2 separate regions of the Homo sapiens genome follow, and region 1 is linked to region 2. Evidence: promoter capture Hi-C in 16 types of primary human blood cells and fetal thymus (Javierre and others, 2016). All regions are on one chromosome and are shown on one strand. The core of a region is centred on a gene start or on the middle of the fragment in contact, and the rest is flanking DNA. Distances in the headings are between cores, read along the strand shown.

What was found. The method cuts DNA at HindIII sites, captures the fragments that hold promoters and counts their contacts. A CHiCAGO score of 5 or more calls a contact.
Region 1: a contact is called between a fragment that was not itself captured here and the fragment with the promoter of FIP1L1 in region 2, in 1 of 17 cell types (activated CD4 T cells). The highest score is 5.4, in activated CD4 T cells.

What each region holds. Positions count from the first base shown.
Region 1 is chr4:53,195,930-53,201,845 of GRCh38, forward strand. All of the region lies in intron 4 of SCFD2 (sec1 family domain containing 2), which reads right to left. Among named protein-coding and RNA genes, the nearest start is that of SCFD2, 170 kb to the right of the region's middle. RefSeq lists an enhancer at 1-3,184. The HindIII fragment of the contact is 8,880 bases long and covers 1-5,916 here.
Region 2 is chr4:53,373,382-53,379,323 of GRCh38, forward strand. FIP1L1 (factor interacting with PAPOLA and CPSF1) reads left to right here and starts at 4,260. Exons shown (of 18, transcript NM_030917.4): 1 at 4,260-4,542; 2 at 5,692-5,736; 3 at 5,844-5,883. The coding sequence starts at 4,458. It overlaps LOC105377654 (a long non-coding RNA gene), which reads right to left and starts at 4,359. Exons shown (of 3, transcript XR_007058118.1): 1 at 4,278-4,359; 2 at 2,216-2,349; 3 at 788-1,216. RefSeq lists enhancers at 3,978-4,526, 4,328-4,417, 4,468-4,587, 4,527-5,075 and a silencer at 4,748-4,837. The HindIII fragment of the contact is 4,469 bases long and covers 1,125-5,593 here.

The sequences.
Region 1 (5,916 bases), core at 2,863-5,362, 180 kb before region 2:
CTCAAATGGTAATCTTTCCTTTCAGCCTTTCTCATTTTATTGGACCAAATATTTCAAGCCTCATCTGTGTTCTATTACAATCCTAAAGACAACATGATATCTAGGATAGTGTTTATATATAAAAATAATTTTAGATCAGGAGGTGACAGAAACTGATGTCCAGATTCCATTACCCTAAGACTTCATGTAATTACTTTGTCTTTTTAAAAATCCTTAAATGATCATTTTCTCCTTTGGCACAGAGTCTTTTGACTCCTCTTTTGATGCCAACATAGTCTCATCATGAAAATAAATTGAAAGTAGGTGGTCTGGTTAGTCTTCACAATGCTACATTTTAATCAGGCAAAGCAGTGAAAAACATGATTGTCGAAATGCTGGCGTGTCTTCAAACAACAGTGTATGCTGTCCATTTTACTCTCAGTGAAAAAGCTCTTCAAGAGATTTCGATAAAGGTTTCCTTCCTACTTGCAGTCCACATTTGTAATGTTTATATAAGTGGAGGATATAAATCTTTCTCCAATGAACCCCATGGTTTTTAAAGCAGATTCTTGTTATAAACTGCCTGTTTCCGTTTTGCCTGCCTAAGCAAGCCAGGCAAAGACCATTCGCGAGAGACTGGAACTAATTTAATGTGCTCCAGGTTTAAGCCCCTAGCCTCTGCGCCTTTGCAGGGAGATTTTACACAGTGGATTACTGCTGACTTTAACAATGATTCATATGATAAGTGGCTTTTGATTTGTTTTTTAATGTCAGAAAATATGCATTGGCAAAAGAAATGTCATTGAAATCATTTCGTTAAAGCAATATCCATAAAAAGGGGTGGGGGAAGGAGAATTCAACTTTTCATCAAAAAAAAAAAAGTCTAAATCATGCCAATGTCTTGTTCACATAAATTTATAGTTTTACTCAATGCAAAAGAATACAAAGCTATTTAGAGACAGCTAGATTTAAGACTGGATGAACTGCAAGATAGGATTGGTTGAATCGATATACTTTACCACAAAATTGGTTATTATTATTAAAATACCAAAGCCACACGGAAGATAGACAAAAGCATCATTCTTTATCCAGCCTCAAAGACACCCTGTGTGCTTTTTTCAAAGATTCACAATTCCTTGAAACCAACACTAATTAAAACAGAAACACATTCACAAAACCCGGAGTAAGATCCATCATCCCAAAGCATGGCGGGGGAGGAAAATTTCCTCTGTTTAACTCAAAGGAACAGAGCAGCAACAACATTAATTCAAAAGAAAACAAACTGAGAAACAAAAGTATGTATTATACTATTATTCTAGAGTTCTGCATTTAAGAGGCCTGAACTGTTCATCAAAACATACTTTCAAAATGCCAAATGTAATAAGATATGCTTGTCCCCAATCATCTGTTAGTTTCTTCTGGTTTTTCTTGAAGTTCCTTTGAAAGGATTATCCAAAGTCTTACAGTAGGGGGCAGTATTGTAACATCATGCTCACACTTAAAAGGACTCCAGGTCAGCCCAAAAGAGGAAAAAGGGCCATTATTCATAAAGACTTAACTATGTTGGCATAATTACAGAAATTATTACAAAATTTCAGATTTTTTCCCCAAAGCCTAACCTGCTTTCTTACCACCTACCTATAATATTAAGATGTCTTAAACAATAGAAAAAGCAAATGCTTTTTATTGAAAAAGTCTGTCCAACAATCTGATACATGCTGATTGCTGTTTAGCAGTGAAAGAACTATTTATTGAATGTCATATTTCAAAAGCATGAAGACTTCTCCAATTGCAAATATCCAGATGTTCTTTATTGTAAATATGACATTAGAAGATGGCAAAAAAAAAAAAAAAAAAAAGAAATGAATATTTCATCTTGCTCTAAAATGAAATGCAGAGCTGGTTTATAAACACAAGTCAATGTAACCTATGCTAATGAGATGTTAATTTCAAAAATATGGGGTAAAAAAATATTTACAAGTATAAGAATGTCTTCATATTTTCCAGGAATAAACCTTTTCTTTCCATCTGTCTAGGATGGCTCTTGGCTGGCCTGCTAGGAAATATGGAAACTGAAACTATTTGTACTTAATGCTTGGCTTCCAATGACTTAACAAAATTCTGGGAGTTTGCGGACAGGAAAATGCAAAGTCCTCACCATGTCCCAAGATAAAACATATAGATATATAATGGCAATTTTTTTCCATGCATAATGGTGATCCATATGGATTTCTCTTAATTCTGGAAATACGAGTGATTGCAGCTTTTATTTAATAATTGAAAGCCTTAAGGTCACTAAACAAAACAATAATTACTGTATTTGACTTTAAAAGAATCAAACCTCCTATCATCTTAGGCAAGTACTGTTGTTTATCTTCATCTTCAATTTCAACTCAAATTGAGTTGCTTGTTTTCTGCCTGCTGGCTTTAAGGGGACGGGCTGTTATAAATTCAAACAGGATTTTTTTAAATCTAATAATTTCAACTAAAAAATTATATTAAAAGTATTATTTTATAGACACATAATCTAATATTTTAAATGTAAAAAAAGAGATCCTAAGAATACTAAAACCTATGAAATATCATATGAAGCCAGCAATTATTGTAATCATGTTTAAATGCTATAAATTTTCAGTTTCAGTACTTCAAGTTATAGTTTATTCTAGTCTTATTATTATACATTATACTCTCTCTACTTGTCCATTTTTGTTTAAGTTGTTTTGGAGTTGGGGATGTTTTGGTTTTATGCTGTGTGAGTGAATGTGTGTGTGTGTGCATGTGTGTATACATGTGTTCATTTAAAGATCCTATAAGAACCCTCATATGTATACTTCTTGGAGAATATGGACTGCTCCTATGCTTTATCACCCAGGTTTTCTCAACTGTTGTGATAGGTTCCTTTTCAAGACTTAACAGAAAAACTGTGCCTATAATTACCATCAAATTTCCCTCAAATTGAGCTAAACAGCATACATTTGAGTTGCCAAATGGGACATAATTCTTCATAATTACCGTCCAAAAGAGCTTGTGACAGTTACAACAAAGTAATTCACTAATGGAAGAGCACCAGGTATGCATTTTCCTGAAACATCTGTTTGAAATGCTGGGTCATTTGAAGAGTATGTAAAATGCTCCCATCTTCTAATTAGTTTCTCACCAACCAAAATATCACTGCCAAACTTAACTAGTTTGAGGGGCCAAGGTTCTTCTGTAGCAAAGCCAATATAACCACTCAGTCCCTCTAAAGGCAAGCACTTGTTTCATCTCTGAGTGATGGCATTTGTGATGGAAAAGAAGGCAGCATTTCCTTCTAATAATAACATTTTTCCTTATTATTTCATTTCTCCATCATCTGTAGTCAGAAAGCACCCTGACATACTACATAAAATGCTTGCTTATTTTCTTGCTTCTCTCCCTTCTTTATCTATCTGATCGAATGAGAGGGGAGATGATTACAAACAACAGAGTATGAACTTTGGGTTGTGTAGTATAAGAAGAAATACATTTGGTTTTTGTTTCTGGTTCCTGGCAAAGAGCACCAAAAACCTTTAGAATTTCCTGAGTGATAAGAGTATCATTGTTTATTCATAACTAGCTCTTTTTGATTCATAACTAGCTGACTTTATGTTAATAAGGTAACTTAGGGTAGGATCCCTAGATAGCCTCAGGATGGGGCTGGTCATCAGAAAGATCAAGTAATTAGAGGGTTGAAGGGGGTGGGACTTCAGATTGAGCTCTACAAAAACTCCTTAGCAGCAAGACTTGATGAACTTCCCAGCTGGCGAACACATCAACAACATGCTGGAAAGGTGGAATGACCAGAAAGGGCATGGAAGCTACCTGTCCCCGTACAAAATAAGTAGCACTGGGTAGCTTAAACAAGAGAAATCTATTTTCTCAGTTTTAGAAGCTGGAAGTTTGACATCAGGGTGTCAGTATGACCAGGTTCTGGTAAGGGCTCTCTTCCTGCTTGCAGATGGCTTTTTTCATGTGTATTCACATGGCAGAGAGAAGGAGGGAGGCGGGAAGAAGAGCAAGAGAGAGTGAGAGTGAGAGCAAGAGAGGGAGAGAGAGAGAGAATGCAAGTTCTCTTGTGTCTCTTTTAATAAAGGCATTAATCCTATCAGAAGGTCCCACCCTCATGACCTCATGTAAATCTAATTATGTCCCAAAGGCCTCATCTCTAATTACTATCACAATCACATTGGAGGTTAGGACTTCAGCATACGGGTTTTGGCAGAACACAATTCAGTCTATAGCACTGAGGTCATTGGCCAAAATCAGATATACAGCTTGCACTCATGTAATAATCCTTCTTCCTAGGAGTGAGTGATTATTCTGCACCTGATCCTTTAAACCAGGATATAAGAAACAGAGTCATTGCAATAGAAGTTTGTCTTAAACAACAGCCTCTCCTATTCTTTTTCCCATCCCTCTACCTCCAAACTCACCACCACCACCACCAACTAAACCCACTGTAGAATATAAGTAGCACTATGAAAGTGAATCTCCAAAAACTTTGAACTATTAAAGTAGATTTCAAATGAAAAAAATTGCCATAGTATCCTGATACAATCAGATTTGAAAGGAAAATATAAGCACTGTCTCTACAACTAATTACAGAGTTTTTCCTCTACTTAAGGTAAAAGCAATAATCTGTTTCTGGAAAGAACACTGGGCTTCCTGTTTGAAAAGTCAGAAGATAGGACAAGCGCTTGTCTCGTAACTGAAAAAACTTTTCCTCTATGAGGTAGACTATCTGGTTTAGAAAAAAAATGTGTTCAAATTAAATCCTGACTATTTATTGCTGAAGGATAAATGTAGACTAAAGTACATTCTGTCTTAATGGCATGAATTTAGCCTACATTGTGACCTGTGTAGCTTCTAGAAGACTCAACCTCATGACACATATACACATGCATTCAATGGATTCAGTTCAGTCATTCATCTCTATGCACATTAAATTTTTCACTAATTCATCAGAAATGTATAAATCCATTCTAAAAATCAAAAGTTTAAAAGTTCAGCAAAGTTCAAGTATTTCATGGAGAATAAGGTTGATATGATTTATAATACAAATATTAATTTTATTTTAATTTAATTTAATTTTTTAAAAAATTTTATTATTATTATACTTTAAGTTTTAGGGCACACGTACATAGCGTGCAGGTTTCTTACATATGTATACATGTGCCATGTTGGTGTGCTGCACCCATTAATTCGTCATTTAGCATTAGGTATAGCTCCTAATGCTATCCCTCCCTCCTCCCCCCACCCCACAACAGGCCCCAGTGTGTGATGTTCCCCTTCCTGTGTCCACGTGTTCTCATTGTTCAATTCCCACCTATGAGTGAGAACATGAGGTGTTTGGTTTTTTCTCCTTGCCATAGTTTGCTGAGAATGGTGGTTTCCAGCTTCATCCATGTCCCTACAAAGGACATGAACTCATCCTTTTTTATGGCTCCATAGTATTCCATGGTGTATATGTGCCACATTTTCTTAATCCAGTCTATCATTGTTGGACATTTGGGATGGTTTCAAGTCTTTGCTATTGTGAACAGTGCCTCAATAAACATACATGTGCATGTGTCTTTATAGCAGCATGATTTATAATCCTTTGGGTAAATACCCAGTAATGGGATGGCTGGGTCAAATGGTATTTCTAGTTCTAGATCCCTGAGGAATCGCCACACTGACTTCCACAATGGTTGAACTAGTTTACAGTCCCACCAACAGTGTAAAAGTGTTCCTATTTCTCCACATCCTCTCCAGCACCTGTTGTTTCCTGACTTTTTGATGATTGCCATTCTAACTGGTGGGAGATGGTATCTCATTGTGGTTTTGATTTGCATTTCTCTGATGGCCAGTGATGATGAGCATTTTTTCATGTGTTTTTTGGCTACATAAATGTCTTCTTCTGAGAAGTGTCTGTTCATA
Region 2 (5,942 bases), core at 3,010-5,509:
AACTTAGGACTAGGTAAAGTTTATTGTTAAAAGATGTCAGGATGTAGAGGAAGATGGCTAATTGGGGTTTAATTTATCATGGAAGTACATAAAGAGGAAGGAAAGCTCTACACACGTACAATTACTTTGCTTGTTCAAAGAAGAAAAGTCCTAAACAACATGTTACCTGCTTGTCAATAACTTGTCAAATGCTTTGACTTTTTTTTTTTTTTGAGACGGAGTCTTGCTCTGTCGCCCAGGCTGGAGTGCAATGATGGGATCTTGGCTCACTGCAACCTCCTCCTCCTGGGTTCAAGCGATTCTTCTGCCTCAGCCTCCTGAGTAGTTGGAATCACAGGTGCGTGCCACAATGCCCAGCTAATTTTTGTGTTTTTAGTAGAAACAATGTTTCACTATGTTGAGCAGGCTGGTCTTGAACTCCTGACCTCAGGTGATCCGCCTGCCTCGGCCTCCCAAAGTGCTGGGATTACAGGCGTGAGCCACCGTGCCTGGCTAGATGCTTTGACATTTGAAACCTCAATTTAGCTTTGTTATTCTTCCCCAATATTGGTACAAATGTCATTTTAATGTATCAATTTACTGCTGAGGAAACTTAAGAACATTGAGAATTTAAGAACATTGAAATTTATGTGACAGCAAAGAGCACAGTTGGGCATAAACATCATATGCATGCCAAACACATTTATGTGTACTTGCTATATATACTGGATAGTGAGCAAGGCATTTTTATTTGATCTCCAATTCTTGTCATCATTTAACTCATCATCATCTACTAAACACTCTCAGTACTTCTCAGAGATAAGTATATTAAAACTTATCTTTTAATTTTTTTTGCCAGAAACCAACAGACCACAAAACAACAATAAAATGGAAAACAAATAGAATATATGGAGCACTGTAGTTTGATAAGGTCATAATATAAGAAATGGAAGGAGGAATATATAATATCTTCAAACTACCTACCTTTGATGTCTCCCCTGGTGAGCAGGGAGAGAAAGATACCTTTAACTAAGAAAGCATATTCAGGCAAGAAACTCAGCTTAGAAGCAAGGAGGAAGAGGTCTTTTCAGAGTAGTTATTAGTGATTTATGTGCTTCTTTGCTTGTGGAAATCTTCATTTTCAAAGCTTAGCTCAAATGCTACCTCCACCACAAAAGCTATTCTAGTATTGTTCATCATTTCTTCAGTTATGTTTAAGCAATGCCTTGAAAGGCAGCTGAAAACAGAAAAAGATCCCTTAACAAAAGGCAATTGGTTTTCTCATGAAACCAATTAAATAAATAGAACGATCAATAGACAGGACTGTGAGTGATTGCCTTACGATACTCATAAACAGTCTATAAGACTTCATTCTATTACTTTCAACAGTGACCAAGAAGATTTACTCAGCGTTAAGCACTATACTAGGAATTGAAGTGATGGCTATGGGATGCCCTGTTTGGAGGTGGACTTGGTCTAGCGAAGAGCCTGAGGCAAACAGAAATATAGTCAAATAATTACTATACAGTGTGATAGGCACATGGCATAGAAGCAGCATGGTGTCTAGAAGGAGTGAGTTGCTCTGTCCCACTCACCCCCCAAATACATCTGACCTCATCTGCATTCTCTCTCACTCACTATACTTTAGCTACATTTTGAGTTTCTTGAACATGCCAAGTATGCTTCTACCTCAGGGCCTTTGCACTTCTTATTCCTCTGTTTGATAGTCTGTCACCCCGAAATCCACGGGGCTCACCTCCTGTCTCCATTCAAGTCTCTTGTATCACTTCATCAGAGTAGCTTTCCCTGACCACTCCATATAAAATTGCACCCCATCACTTCATTTTATATTGCTTACTCTTTTCACAATTCTTGTCATCATGACATATCATACGTTCATATGTTTATTATCTGACTCTCTTATTAGAATCAAAGCTCCACAAAAGAAAGAACTTTGTTTTATTCACTGTTGAATCTACATAGCTGGAAGAGTTCCTGGCAAAACAAATGGGAAGAGATAAAATGGGATTCAGGAAAGATTTCACAAAGGTGATTATACCCCCAGAGAGTTTAGAAGGATGCAAGAGATTATCATAAAAAGATAAGGGAGCTGGGAATAGCTGGCAGAAGTGTGTTCAAAGGTAAGAAAGATTAAAACCACATGGTTTGTTTAAATAATGTGAGATATTGGTTGGGCGTAAACCCTTCATTTGTGCTTCTATTACAACACATTCACCTCTTCTCTTGTAGGAGAGTTGTTTACTGCCCCTCTGTCTTTCTCAATAACTTCAGAGTTCTTTAAGGGGTGGGACTGTTTCACTCATGTCTTCATTTTCCAAGTTCTTAAACAGAGCAGATATTCTGTAATTGCTAAATAAATAAATGATAAAACAATATTTATTCATCAAGGAGCAAGAAAACTCATTTAGTTGTTCAATCAAAATGGATTTCTCTCTGTTGACAAGCGAATGCCCTGTTTGTAAACTTTATAAATGAAAGAGACCTCAGAGATCATCTAACTTGGCCTTTCCATTTTATAGATGAGAAAACTGAAGCATAGAAAGGTTGATTGCCTGACTATACAACCTGCTAGGTATAATGAAGAACTGAGGCCAGGCCTGGTGGCTCATACATGTAATCCCAGCACTTTAGGAGGCCTAGGTGGAAGGATTGCTAGAGACCACGAGTTCCAGACCAGCCTAGGCAACATGGTGAGACATTGTCTCTACAAAAAATAAAAAATTAGCCAGGTGTGGTGGCACCTGCTTGTCTGTAGTCCCAGGTACTCAGGAGGCTGAAGTGGGAGGACTGTTTGAGTCTGGGAGGTAGAGACTGCAGTGAACAGTGACCCTGCCACTGCATTTCAGCCTGGGTTACAGAGTAAGACTGTTTTTTAAACAAAACAAAACAAAACAAAACAAAACAAAACAAAACAAAAAAACAGGCCGGGCGTGGTGGCTCATGCCTGTAAGCCCAGCACTTTGGGACACCAAGGTGGGCAGATCACCTGAGGTCAGGAGTTCAAAACCAGCCTGGCCAAAATGGTGAAACCCCCTCTCTACTATAAATACAAAAATTGGCTGGGCATGGTGGTGCGTGCCTGTAATCCCAGCTACTTGGGAGGCTGAGGCAGAAGAATCGCTTGAGCCCAGGAGGTGGAGGTTGCAGTGAGCAGAGATCGCACCACTGTACTCCAGCTGGGCAACAGAGTGAGACTCCGCCTCAAATAAATAAACAAACAAACAAAAAACCTAGACAAACCTAGAGCTCCAGTTTGAACCATGGTATGTCATCTTTTCACTGGAAGATGTGCTTTCAGAAGCGGCCTGAACATTTGGTTTACCTATTAAAATAAAAACTGTACATACTTTATGATCTATCTTTGAGAAACAGACAAATCTGCAAGGAGCCGTGTGGATCTTCATTGTCATTTTTTGTTGTAGTTAAAAGTGTAAAGTCAAAAGCAATCTGGGTGTACATCAATGGAGAAATAGCCATATTCACTCTGTGATAGCCATACTATGCAATTTTATGAAGCACTTAAAATAGATATAGTTTGATTCATACTAAAATGAAAAAGAGCTCCAAGACACGGATGCTAAAAAAAAAGAAAAAAAAGGAAGTCGAAGGATGATACTATACTGTACTGTACTATTTAAGACTTGTCAATCTCAGGTTCTCCCACCAAAACAGCACAACACATGAAGTAAGTGTATAGGAAATTTCGGAATGATGAACTCCAAACAGGATATGCATCTGTAGCAAGGGCTACCTCCGGAGAGAAGGGTAGGGGAATGAGGCGGTCTTTGACCTTGACAGTAATTTATGGTTTTTAACAAGGAGAGTGCATTCTTCATCTATTAGTTTTGCTTTTGTTGGCTGTGAAAATTAATTTTTTGAGAAATAGTACTGATTGTGATTTCTTCTCTATTCAGTGAGGAAAGGGAGTGACAGGTAATGATTCTGTATCAAGGCTGATTAAAGAATAAAAGAAGGCCTTTCTGAAGATTAAAAAACAAATAAAAAGTTGAGAAGAAAGAGCACGAAGAGTAGAAGGGAACAATGGTGTACTCGCCAGCAATGGCAATACGGGTTATTAAAAAGAAGGGTGGGGGCGGGGAACCCTGGCCGACTCAGGACGCCACGGGAGGAAGCCACGCAAAATAGCAAACCGGGATCCTAGAGGGGCGGGGCCCACCTCAGCGCGCAGGCGCAACCAGGCCCAGGTGGCCGCCGCGGAAGCGAAGCCACCTATACGCGCCGCGCCGCTTGGGTCTCCTGCGCATGCGCAGACGGACCTGCGCTGGAGGCTTCATCTTTGCCGCCGCTGCCGTCGCCTTCCTGGGATTGGAGTCTCGAGCTTTCTTCGTTCGTTCGTCGGCGGGTTCGCGCCCTTCTCGCGCCTCGGGGCTGCGAGGCTGGGGAAGGGGTTGGAGGGGGCTGTTGATCGCCGCGTTTAAGTTGCGCTCGGGGCGGCCATGTCGGCCGGCGAGGTCGAGCGCCTAGTGTCGGAGCTGAGCGGCGGGACCGGAGGGGATGAGGAGGAAGAGTGGCTCTATGGCGGTACGAAACTTCCTGTCTCTGTCTCTCGGGTTCTCTCAGGCCTCCCCTCTTGGCCCTCAAACGGCCGGCGTCCCTGGCCTCTCGCGCCGCCGCTTCGGGCCTCTGGTTGGGAGTCCTGTCCGGCCTGACTTAGGCCGAGCGCGGCGTGCGCGTGCCCCCAGTCCCCGCGGCGGTCTCCCGCCTGGCCCACGCCCACCATGCGCATCCACCCCTGTGGCGGCCGGGCCGGGCTGGGGGGCTGTGACCGGTCCTGGCCCCCGGCTTCGCTGTGCTTTCCCCGAGGCGTCTCGATCGCCTAGCTGCTGCGCTCTTTACCCTTGTTTTTTTCTGTCGATTCTGAGGTGGTGGTTTTTGGTGTCTGTTTTTGCCCTGTGGCCTTAGGGTGCCCTTCCTGTCCCTTCTTTCAGAAACAGTCATTCTGTAATAATAGCTAAATAAAGTTAATGCTGTACAACTAACGTCTTGTTTCTTGATGGTCAGTTTGTATGGAATGCACCTGCAAGGGTACCTCCTTGTCTGAAAGTCGTGCTTTAAAAATAATTAATTAAGAGAGAGAGAGAGAAAGATGGCCCATAAAGAAAACTCTGAATGTCTCCTGTATTAAGGTGAAGTTATTCTTTTTTAAGAGACTACCGTTTAACCTACATCATGGAGGTATCTCATGACCCTTCGGCTTATAGTTTTCAGTGTCATCTCATGTATTTGTTTTTCTCAAAATAAATTTAATGCATCATGTACTTCTCTCTAGAAGGGTACTTGTTTGACATCTGGTTTTTAACTTTAAGTCACAATCCCTTCTTGCTTGTTAACACCAGATTTGAAAGTTAATGTTTGTTCCTTGCCTAAAACATATATTCTTGATTGTCTTTAGAATAGAATAGTAAAAGTGCACTTTGGGCACCATGCAGGTCCTTGATGATGTGACTTTGATAAACTTGTAAAAAAAAATCGTTTGGTGGCAAGATTTAGCATTAGTTACTACTCTTTGAAATGTGAATGTGTAGGATTTCTTTTACAAAGATCTGGAAATCTTCATTACCTCTTAAATTTAAGCTTATTTTTATAGCAGTAAAGTCTGATTTTTTTTTCCATAAAATAAGTATCTTGTTAAGTAATTATAAGGTGATCTAACTTTGGATGTGCTTATAGGCCCATGGGACGTGCATGTGCACAGTGATTTGGCAAAGGACCTAGGTTAGTGCTTGTGATGATCACTTCAGATTTTCATAATACTAGTTTCTTTAAGAGTGGTTTCTTTATTTTGTTTGCTTATTTATTTATTTGTTTATTTTACTTGGTAGATGAAAATGAAGTTGAAAGGCCAGAAGAAGAAAATGCCAGGTTAGTGAAATTTTCTGTTGATGCCTATTACACAGGTTGTGTGAAACAATGGTTCTGTC